Regions from separate parts of the Homo sapiens genome. Here region 1 is linked to region 2. Evidence: promoter capture Hi-C in human tissues and cell types (Jung and others, 2019). All regions are on one chromosome and are shown on one strand. The core of a region is centred on a gene start or on the middle of the fragment in contact, and the rest is flanking DNA. Distances in the headings are between cores, read along the strand shown.

The links. The method cuts DNA at HindIII sites, captures the fragments that hold promoters and counts their contacts. A contact is called where the count stands out against the background at its distance.
Region 1: a contact is called between a fragment that was not itself captured here and the fragment with the promoter of MRPL42 in region 2, in 1 of the 25 tissues and cell types used here (bladder).

Annotation. Positions count from the first base shown.
Region 1 is chr12:94,471,204-94,476,939 of GRCh38, forward strand. LOC102724960 (a long non-coding RNA gene) reads left to right here and starts at 1,114. Exons shown (of 3, transcript XR_945224.3): 1 at 1,114-1,232; 2 at 2,314-2,408. The HindIII fragment of the contact is 7,278 bases long and covers 1-5,111 here.
Region 2 is chr12:93,464,858-93,470,319 of GRCh38, forward strand. It overlaps MRPL42 (mitochondrial ribosomal protein L42), which reads left to right and starts at 2,657. Exons shown (of 6, transcript NM_014050.4): 1 at 2,657-2,697; 2 at 4,335-4,498. The coding sequence starts at 4,429. RefSeq lists enhancers at 2,489-2,548, 2,609-2,878. The HindIII fragment of the contact is 7,004 bases long and covers 1-5,462 here.

The DNA.
Region 1 (5,736 bases), core at 223-2,722, 1.0 Mb after region 2:
GTATACAAACAAGTTTCAGGGTGTTTTTTTTTGTTTTTTGGTTTTTTGGTTTTTTTTTTGAGACAGAGTCTCGCTCTGTTGCCCAGGCTGGAGTGCAGTGGTGTGATCTCGGCTCACTACAACCTCTGCCTCCAGAGTTCAAGCGATTCTCCTGCCTCAGCACCCCCCGTAGCTGGGATTACAGGTGCGTACCACCACACCCAGCTAATTTTTTTGTATTTTTAGTAGACATGAGGTTTCACCATGTTGGCCAGGCTGCTCTCGATCACTTGACCTCATGATCCATCCGCCTCGGCCTCCCAAAGTAAGTTTAAGCTTTAAATGAAAAAAAGTACGGACATTTGGAGTATTTGTGCAAGAAACAGAATGCTTTAGGATAAGGAATTCTTATAAACGGTAGGCATTCCAGTATTGCATTTCCTTTAATACTTTGTTGCCAGAGCCAGAAATAATGTAAGAAGAATAAGCTTGTATTTCAGAATGTCAAGGAAAAAAAGCTATATGTCATATGGCTTGGTGGTAGACAAACCTATTTTTGTCTTAAAATTTCATATACCTTCTCCTTTAATTATCTCTTCTTTCCTCCTTTCCTTTTTCTTTTTCATCATTCTACTTTTATTTTCTTTCCTTCTCTTTCATCTTCTTTCTTTTTCTCTCCTTTTTTCTTCTTCTAGACCGTATTTCTTAGCCTTGTTTTCATAATTGATCCCCTAAGCAGCCATTTTAGACACCACTTTCCTCATTGCTCCTCCCACCCCCATGAAATCTTAAATCACAGATATACTGTATGTCTGTTTATGTACTGTGGCTCTTTGGAGGGCCAAGGACCATTGTAATATCTAAGGTTTTTTGCCCCCTTGAGGGGTGATATCTCCCCATTAAAAATAACATGTTCCAACTAATGAGTTCTTTGAGGGGAAGGATCATGTCCTGTTTACCATTGTATGCCTTGTGCTTAATATAATGCTTGGCACACAGTAGGCAATCAGTAAATAAATGTATTAGATGAATATTTATTGAATTAAAGTGAAAATGGTCTCTGCTGTAAACTCATCAAACAACTAAACAGCTAAAATTCTTGAATCTTTTTTAGACAATACTGTCTACTACTTATACTCCACAGTACCTCCGCATTTGAAGATTGTCTTCCTGAGACTATATCCATGTGACTTGATGGAATCTTGGAAAGCACCTTGATCACAAAAGTAATAAATTCAAAGCCAAGTCCAAGGGTGAGTTACTTATACAGATGGCTAATTTTATCTACCATATACTGATTTTTTTTCCTAGCATCACTTTCAGAAGGTGATCATTTCCTAAATTTTTCTCTGAATTGAGGCTTGCAGCCTCTTTGATACTTACAACTCACTATTCAAAACTTATCAGTTCCAGTTGACGTGCAAGAATTGGATTAGGGAATGAGTAGAAGGTGACGGCACTATAGGAAAGGAGAAAATAAATAGAGGAAGTCATTAAACTTCTCTGTTCCTTAATTTTTCTTTATCTGTAAGACCTCTTCTAGCTCTAAAATTTGTGATCTTGATTTATTCTCTGAGTGAGTGGTTCTCAATAGAAACATTTTATTAAAGAAATCAGTGGAGGGTGTCATCAGTTGCCTCAAGATTGGAAGGACAGTGCTGCCAGCCTTTGTGGGAGAGGCCAGGGATGCTAGACATCCTACTGTAAATGGGACTTTGGTCAGTTCAGGTCCACAGAGAAGCAGACACCAAGACAGACATAGAAGAGATGGATTGGGGGAAATGGCTGTAGGGAAGAGGAAGCAGTTAGCAGGCAGAGTTTGAGACTGGGATGCAGATCTGACACCCATGTCAATGTCATGAGAAGAGGGAGGTGGATTCAGTAGGAACAGCCTTAGATTATAATAACAGCTCTAGGAATGTCTTGGCCAGGCCAATAGGGAGCCACAGAGCAAAGACTGACCATTTGAGGGGGTTCCAATTTGACCAGATGTGGCCTGGCTCTATTACCCCTGCTGTGCTCAGCCATTGAGGAAGTTTGGGTAGGGTAAGGCCAAATCATAAATGCCATGATGAATCTCCAAGGAATAATACTAGAAGACTGTCAGCTAGCTACAGTCCTCACAGCAGGTTCTCTCTCTCTCTCTCTTTCTCTCTCTCTCCATCTCTCTCTCTTTCTCTTTAAAGCAAAACAAAAATGATACTTTACTGAGATACTTTTGCTTGTAAAGCAGGAGAACAAGATGATATACATAAGTCATAACATGTCAAGACATGCCAAGGTGATGATTTTGATGTTTTCTTTATCTTTTTCTTTTATCTTTTTTTAATCCAGGTTAAAGTTGGACACAAAATGAGAAGTTTGGGGAGATAAGGCTTGGGAGTTGAGATCCTGCATGGAAAACAAGATGAATTAACTTCCCAGGCTGCGTAAGTGTTCACATTTTGTATCGAATTATAGCAGATTTGTTTCTTCTTTTGACCTCAAAAACCGTTTGGAAACCTTAGGGAAACTTCATGGCATCTTTTCCATTTTGCTGATGGTTGTCAGGAGGGATAGCACCAGACCTTAACAGAGGTGGCTTCACCTTGCCTAGAGCATCAATAATCTTATCACAGATTCACCCCTGTTCTTTCTCGTTTAGACTCTGAGGGTCCCACTTCATTGTCAATTTCATTTGCAGTCACAGGTTTAGCATAACAGCTAACCTTATTTTTAGTTGATGATCTGGAACCCTTCACCTGACTTACAGGCAAACTCTTGTGTATTTTTTGTTAGAAAATCTTCATATCGCCATTAGCAAATGCTGTACTAGTTTGATTACTTGGCCATTAGCTGCTTCTCAATAGGCCAGGTTGGGAGGCATTTTCTTGGCATTTTTGTTTTGTATCTTGAGTTTTGGAGGTGAATCACTGCCATTTTTAATGGATGCTGGAGGCATTTTGTCAAAGGATTCCTTTTTGGTTCCTTCATCTTTGTCATCTGCTTCATCTTCATCAGTATTATTTCCTGATATTTCTGTAACTTTAGAAGCATTTTCATCTATATTGTCTTCTTCATGGTTTCCTCAACTCTATTTTTCCTTTCTAGTCCTTCCAGCAGGTTCTCTGTTGAACCTCTCATGTTCTGGGAGTAGCTTTTCTGATTCCTCTGGACCTCACTTCTTGAGGGAAAACTTAGACAAAGGGGGTTATTGGGACAAACCATAATCCCTGTCACTCAGTTGGTTTCAAAGCTGCAACTGCTACTTATCTTCCTCTTCCATACCAATTTCAAGTTCTCCTCTCCTTCAGCAGTCACTTCCACAGATCTTAGTGGTGTAACCTGGGTGTGACCCAAATCCTCATTCCTGATGAGAAATATATATTTATTGGCAATTACACATACCTCATGTGATTGTTGTACATGTCCTTCCACAGTTACAAGTAAGTCTCAAAAGACTCCCAAGTGGATCACCTAGGGGCTACATATTTTTCTCTGCCCATTGTGTAAAAGAAGCCCTTCTGCTTCCTGTTGATCTAGGTCAGTTACCCCTGCCAAGATGGGGATTCCTCTTCCTGCCTGCTGGCACCTTGACACAAAGGGTCCAAAATGCCCAAACAGTTGCCATAGCTTGTAGTTCAGTGGGACCTTCCTTGCATTTCCTGGCAAGAATTCACCCCACTTTGGGGACCAGGACTTCTAAACCTTCAAAACCCAGAGTTGCAGGAACAGAAAGCACAAAGTTCCCCGATGAGTCGTTTGGGTGGATGGTAAGTAGGGCCACTTCTTCTTCCTCTGCCTTTTTCCTGGACCCATGTATTCTTCCTATTAGGGACAGTGCCTTTAGAGCTCCCTGATTTAGTATATATACTGATCTTGAAAAGTGGCACTCTGTTCTTGCAGAATATTGCCTCCAAATCGGCACTCCAGCTGCACCTTCAGTAGGTTGCCCAGTGCTCTATCAGGCTGGCTGCTCCAGATGGTGCAGTATGTGATAAAACCAGTAGATCCCTTAGTCATTAGTTCATACTCATACCACCTTTACTATGAAATGGATCCCCTGTTTGGATCCTGTGTTGAGTTGGATACTATACCTGTGGATCAGGCCTTCTTTAAGCCTCTAGATAGTGGTATGGGCTGTGGCTCTGAAGCCAAGAAAGGCAAACCCATACCCAGAATAAATATGTATCCCTGTAAGGATAAACTGCTGGCCACTCCAGAATGGAAAGGGCACAGTGTTGTTGACTTGCCACCAAGTGGCTGGTTTATCTTCTCAAGTAATAATGCCATATCAGGGACTCAGGGTTGGTCTCTGTTGCTGGCAAATTAGACCTTCAGAGACAAGTAGGTATATTGGCCTTGGTAAGTAGGAATTCATGCTCTTGGGCTCATGTGTAGCCTTCATCTCTGCACTCACAGTAGGCAGACTTACATGTTGCCTACATGTGAACCAAAGCAGTATTCCTAGGTATGGAATTCATTGCTTCCAGAACCCAAAAAGGCCCACCAGGCATTGGGCTTCATTATAGTAGGAGATGCAAGATGCAGAAATTTGCCTTTTATCCTGGAGGGGATGTCTCCACAGGCCACTGACTACTGGACCTTGAAAAAACTTTACGGAAGTCACAAATTCTTGAATCTTCTTAAAAGTGTATCTCCCACTCTCTGGATACATGTCTTACCAAGACCTCTAGTATACAAGCCACATCTTGCTCATCATGCTCAGTCTGAATATTGTTGATATAACATATCAATGTGATGTTACACACTGGATGTCCAGACAGTCCAGATCTCTTCTGACTGTATTACAATAGAGAGTAGAAGAGTTAACATGGTCCTTGGACAAAGCTGGAAATAAATATTGTCTCCTCCACATGAATGTGAATTATTTCTTATCCTTATTTCTGATTGGAATATAAAATAATGCATCCATCAAATCAGTGTCTACAAACTATGTGACTGAGGCCTTATTAATCTGCCTTAGCAATTATACCATGTCCAGCATAGTTTCAGTTGAGAGTACTACTTGTTTAAACTTGCTGTGGTAGCCTGCATTCACTCTGTAGGATACAAACGTGGTACTAATCTCCTGTGGGACACAATGTCATTTATATTCTATCTTGGCTAGGGTGGGGGACAGTTTCAAAGGCTTTCAGTTGGTCTTCTCATTATGATAGCTCTTTAACAGCTCAAGGACCCAGTACTTCCACTGCCAATGATGTCTGTTGTAATTATATACTCAGGGACAAAGAAATACCTAGCAGATGGGTCTTCAGACCCAGTGAATTCACTGTGTGCAGACTTTAGCTAAGACTTTATTACTTATTCTCATAATTTTCCACACACAGGGGAAGCCATGATAACACTTTGGGTCTCCAGTTACCAAAGTCGACTTAGTCCCTAGGCCCAAAGCTCCTCTGAAATGACTGGGCACTCCCGTTTCCCAGTGTAAATGCCCTACCCAAGTGTATGCCCTAACTCCTTTTGGAGAATGATAGGAGGAATCATTAAAATATCTACTTGCCACAATGTTGCAGGGTCCTCCTAGGGACCTAGCTACCTCCTCAGTCAGTGGGCTCTAGATCTGAAAATTTGCTTAAGTTCAGGATGAACAACAAAGACATTTATTGAAATGACCTCCCTTAGCCTCCTGCCCCTCCATTCTTGCCTTCTGCTTGTACATGTTAAGCAGCACTCTTAATCTCTTAATATCTGCCTATTTTGCCCCTAAAGTAATGATGATCTGTCGCTGGACCCATCAACTCTATGACTATG
Region 2 (5,462 bases), core at 1,407-3,906:
TCCAATTTCAAAATACATCTGGACTCTTCCTGTCTCTCCATCTCCACTGCCACCACCCTCCATCACATGATTTCTTGACTGCAGTACTGCAGTAGCTTCCTTGCTAGACTTGCCTGCGGTCTTGCCACTCTCCAAACCACTCCTCCCAGGGCAGCCAGAGTAACCTTTTAAAAATGGAAATCAAATTATGTCACTTCTTTCATGTAAAAATCTCAAGAGACAGGGCTCACTCTGTCACCCAGGCTGGAGTGCACGGCACGATCATAGCTTACTACCGCCTTGACCTCCTGGGCTCAAGCAATCCTCCCACTTCAGCCTCCCATTCCCAGGGTAACTAGGACTACAGGCACACAGCACCACCTACTCTATTTAATCTCTACATATGTCCTGTGTCCTAACTCCATGTTAACCCCTCCAAGGCTTATGAAGCCCAACATGACCTGGCTCCAAATCTCATCTCCTGCCGCTCTCATCCACACTATCCACCCTACTCCAGTATATGGTAAGCTATTTCCACCACATTAAACCTTTGTGTAAGTTGTTCCCTCACTCAGCCTAAACCTGTCTCTCCCCTCTCTTCCCCCAAAAATGTTGGTTTCTTTTCTGGTCTCAGCTTTGTGAGACCTTCCTTGGTCCCACTAAGTGAGTCTCCCTGTTGGGGACTGGTCCCACTCTGCTCACAGCCATCAAGACTTGACCTCTGGAATTATCTTTGATCCATTCTTCTTACACTTTACGCAGGGAATGTTCAACCAGTCCAGTTGACTGCTCATTCAAATCTGTTTCTCCTCTCTGTCCCTTCCTATTGCACAGTCCAGAAAGACATCATGGGTGGCTTTGGAGGATGGACACGACTGGAAAGGACACAGATGGGCCCTCTGTGGGCTTCTATAAGAGCAAAGATTAGCCTCCTGATATTCCGTGGGAAATGAGGAGACACACTACACAGCCCGTATTTAGTTTTCTTTACTATGTGATGTGTGTTCACTTACTTTCAATACTAGTCACTTCAGGAATATGGTTCTTAACTTGTTGAGGGGTTTATCAATTCCCTGGAATACATAATAAAAGCTATAGATTATTTCTTAGAAAAATATACAAAAGCAAAATTTTGCAAATCATGGGAGAAGGGAATTTCCAGGCGACCGCTTCTGCTTTACCAGCCAATCATCTACTGTCTTGGATACTTGCAGCGTTATCTAGTCTTTTCATTCATTCAGCAAACACTTCCTGGAGACCTATAATGAGACCAAGCACAGTCTGAGATGCTGGGTTTGCATACAGTGAAGAACAAGATAGACATATGTCTCTGTCTTCAAGGAGCTTACATTATCCAGCATAAGAGACATTAAACGAGGTTGGGTGTGGTGGCTCACGCCTGTAATCCAGCCCTTTGAGAGGCCGAGGTGGGCATATCACCTGAGGTAAGGAGTTCGAGATCAGCCGGGCAAACATGGCGAAACCCCATCTCTACTAAAAATACAGAAATTAGCTGGGCGTGGTGGTGGCCACCTGTAATCCCAGCTAATTAGGAAGCTGAGGCAGGAGAATCGCTTGAAGCTGAGAGGCGGAGGTTGCAGTGAGCTGAGATCATGCCACTGCACTCCGGCCTGGGCGATAGAGCAAGACTCCGTCTCAAAAAAAAAAAAAAAAAGAAAGAGACATTCAACGAGCAAACAAATAATCAATATAAAGTCAGGTAATGGTAAATATTCTGAAGGAAAATAAAGCGGGGCATGGAATAAGGGTGGGTGAGGCTATTTTAATGGTGTGGTCCTTTCTAAGATGATATTTGAGAAAGACCTGTAAGGTCATGAGAAGAGGTCAGAGAAGCACATTGCTGGCAATGGGAACAGAGAGTGCAAAGGCCCAGAGGTCTTTCCTTCCTCCTAAGATGGAAAGCGAGGTCCAAGATTCTGCATATTTACTTCCTCCCATAATAGGTAGCCAGCACAGTTCTGAGGGCACAGTGCCAGGTTTTCAGAGTGGAGGTTCTCTTCAGGTTCTGATTTCAAACGTCCAAATCCTAGCCTCCACATTTCAGGGCTTCTCTGGAATGTCTCTTCCCCTGGGAAACTTTAACTCATCTACTAAAGAGCAATCTACGATTTCTCTGAATATTAACATAATTTTTTTAAAAAGTACTTATAGGTTTGCATGGTGGCTCATGCCTGTAATTCCAGCACTTTGGGACGCCGAGGCAGGAGGATTGCTTGAGACAAGCCTGGGCAACATACCGAGACCTCGTCTCTACAAAAATATTAAAAAATTAGCTGGGTGTGGTGGTGTGCGCCTGTAGTACCAGCTACTCAGGAGGCTGAGGTGGGAGGCTCTCTTGGGCCCAGGAGGTAGAGGCTGCAGTGAGCCGTGAGGGAGCCATTGCACTCCAGTCTGGGTGACAGAATGAGACTGCCTCACAAAAAAAAAAAAAAAAAAAAGCTTGTTACTTTCTAAGGGTATGTGTTTGGGGCAGTGATTTTGTTTTTCTGGGCACCTTAGTAACACTGCGGCCACGCTTCCCCAACTAAAGGTAAAAGTCCATAGCAACAATCCTCCCTTTCTCTCTGCACCCGGGCCGCTTTCCCGCGGAGACTACATTTCCCAGAATGCCCCGCGGGCTGGGACGGCGCGCGCAGCGCTGTTTCGTGGGACCAGGATTGAAACAAGATGGCGGGTTCGTGGTGAGAAGCCGTCAAGGTAACCGCTTCCCTCTACTCCTCCTGTCGAGGACTTCCTCGAAACTGGGCAGTCCCACAGTGTTGGTCGGCAGTTGTAGAGGTCTCCCGCCTGTCGTTCCCGGCAGGGCGAGGTTGCCTGCATCCCCAGCCTTTGTCCTTCCTGCAGAAGAGCCGGCATGTGGCTGCGCGTTTCTTATAGCGCCCCCTTTGTTCCCTGGCGGACGCCCGTGGGGAGGTGATGCAGCTTGTGGCTCTAGGGACTCCTTTAGGTCGAAGAGTTCTGGTGCTCTTGGTAGCCTGTTCCTCAAACCTCTGACCCTCAGAGGCTCTGTAGCTTTTGTTTTGGGGTTGAATTCCGGGCTGAGGGACTTGATCTCTGAAATGATCTTCCTGGGGTGAATAATCTGACTCCCAGCAGGGCGTGCTTTTCTCTGGGCTTCGGACAGAGGGGACCTAATTTCCCCCAAGATGTTTTATTCGTGGTCAGAAGTCATGGGTTTACGTCCCACGCATGTATTAAGCAGCGATATACTGAGCAAGTAATCGATTGACCTCTCTGAGCCTTTGTTCTTAATCTGAAATGGAGATGCTGCTTCACACACTTGTGAAAGTCAGAGCACATATTGTATATGAAAGTGGGTTGTAAACTAAAAAGCACACCTATGAGCTCAGGGTTAACGGTGTTAATGTACTGGCAGTGCAAGGTATCAGTGTGAGTGGTTTAGACTAGCAAATAAGAGGGCCTGTGTCCTAATTCTCTTTTATCACTATTGGGGGGAAGGGCACGGATACTCATTGAAGACTATTAAAAACAAGATTTAACAATGGTTATTTGTCATTTATTCACAACAGGCCATGAAGATTGTGGTTTTCCCCATTTTGTCATTGGAGAAACTGAGGATCGTTTAGTTAATGACTTGTTTAAAGTTTCCCAATTTGGCAGTGACTGACTCTAAAGTCCTTGGAAGCAAGACGTTTAAATTTTGTACTTTAGTTTCTTCATGAATCAGAATAAAGATACCTCACATGATTAATACGAGAGCAAAATGAAATGGTGGTGAAAGTACGTTGGAAAGTTAAAGACTTTGTACACATATAAGATGGTGAAATTTTATCTGGGACTTGAGGGCATTTATGAGTTCCTCCAATTGAGTAATAGGCTAAGGATAGGCCTTGTTTGATATTTCTTTATTATTATTATTATTATTAATGGCTCAGGGCAGACAACTATTTCATTTAATCAGAAACAGGATAGTACTGTAAATGATGTAGTATCTTGTGTATGGAACCTTGGAGGGTGTACACAGCCACACTAGCATTAAAAGAATGAATACTCTGTGTACCATTTGTGAGTGACTGTTTCAAGAGTAATTACACATTTACTGAGTATTCATTAAGTGGAAGGAGCTGCACTGGGTCCTGCAGAGAAGTTTGTATCTAAGATAAATAGTAATGGACATAGTTCCAGTGGTTCTGATCTTATATTCTGTCCATGTCGCTCTTCGTCCTGTTGTTCAATCATGTGGAATTGCCAAGTTGTTTAAAAGCATTGCTTCAGTTGACTTCTAGGCAGTGATTCTTACCTTGTTCTTGTGGTGTTTAATATAACTTAAATTTACCATAGGTAGCACTGATTTTTCTTTATCTCTTCAGCAGGAGTAGAAATTGGTATGCTTAGAAGCAGATTCTAAAAGCAGTTTCTCTTCAGAACATCTTTTTTCATACCACTTGATAAGCATCTTGAAACACCATGGCTGTAGCTGCAGTAAAATGGGTGATGTCAAAGAGAACTATCTTGAAACATTTATTTCCAGTCCAAAGTAAGTGAAATTTTTTTTAATGTTTAAAAACTTTTAAACTTTTAAGAATTAAGAAAATTTAAAGCATTTAGTTATTGTATATGCCTGTAATTTGCAGGAGTGTTTGCAGCAATGGAAAGTGGGAGAAAACCTAAATGTCAGTCAGAAGGGGAATGGATAGGTCAGATGTGGTGTCTCATGCCTGTAATCCCAGCACTTTGGGAGGCTGAGGTGGGAGGATTGCTTGAGGCCAGGGGTTTGAGACCAGCCTGGGCAACATAGCAAGACCCCCACCTCTAAAAAAAAATGTGGGTTGGGGAGGGGAATGGATAAATTATGGTACATCTGAACTGTGACTGTCATGTAGCTGTTACTGACATGGAAAGATCTCCAAATAGAAACAAAAAAAGCATGTCAGAACCACATCTATATATATCTATCATATGATCTTATTTGTATGTTTAAAAGATGATCCATCATATGCATGTGTGCATATGCATAAATGCAGAGGTAAAAGGTCTGGACCAAACAGTGGTTATCTGTGTAGCCCACTCTTGGGATTTGGCTGAGGGCAGGAGTAAGGGACTGGTCAAGGGTAACTTTCTCTTGTTCGATTACATGTATTACTTTTTTAGTATTTCTCTCTTTTTTTTTTTTTTAACGGAGTCTGGCTCTGTCGCCCAGGCTGGAGTGCAGTGGCGTGATTACTTTTTTAGTATTTCTTAAAATGTGCGAATAAAGGGTAAATTCACAGTCCCATCTTCCAAAGATAATCATTGTTAATATTTTGGTGGATTGTCATTGTGTTTTTTCTATGTACCTAGCCATTTTTAAAAAAATGAAATGTAATTTCTGCCTTTCTTTTCTAAAGAACTGTATATAGTTAGTATTTTCTCGAAAGCTTGTTAATACATGTTTGACAGTCAAAGCATGGACCCAAATAAGTAAATAGAGTATTAAAGTCTTTTTTCTCAGCCAACTGTGC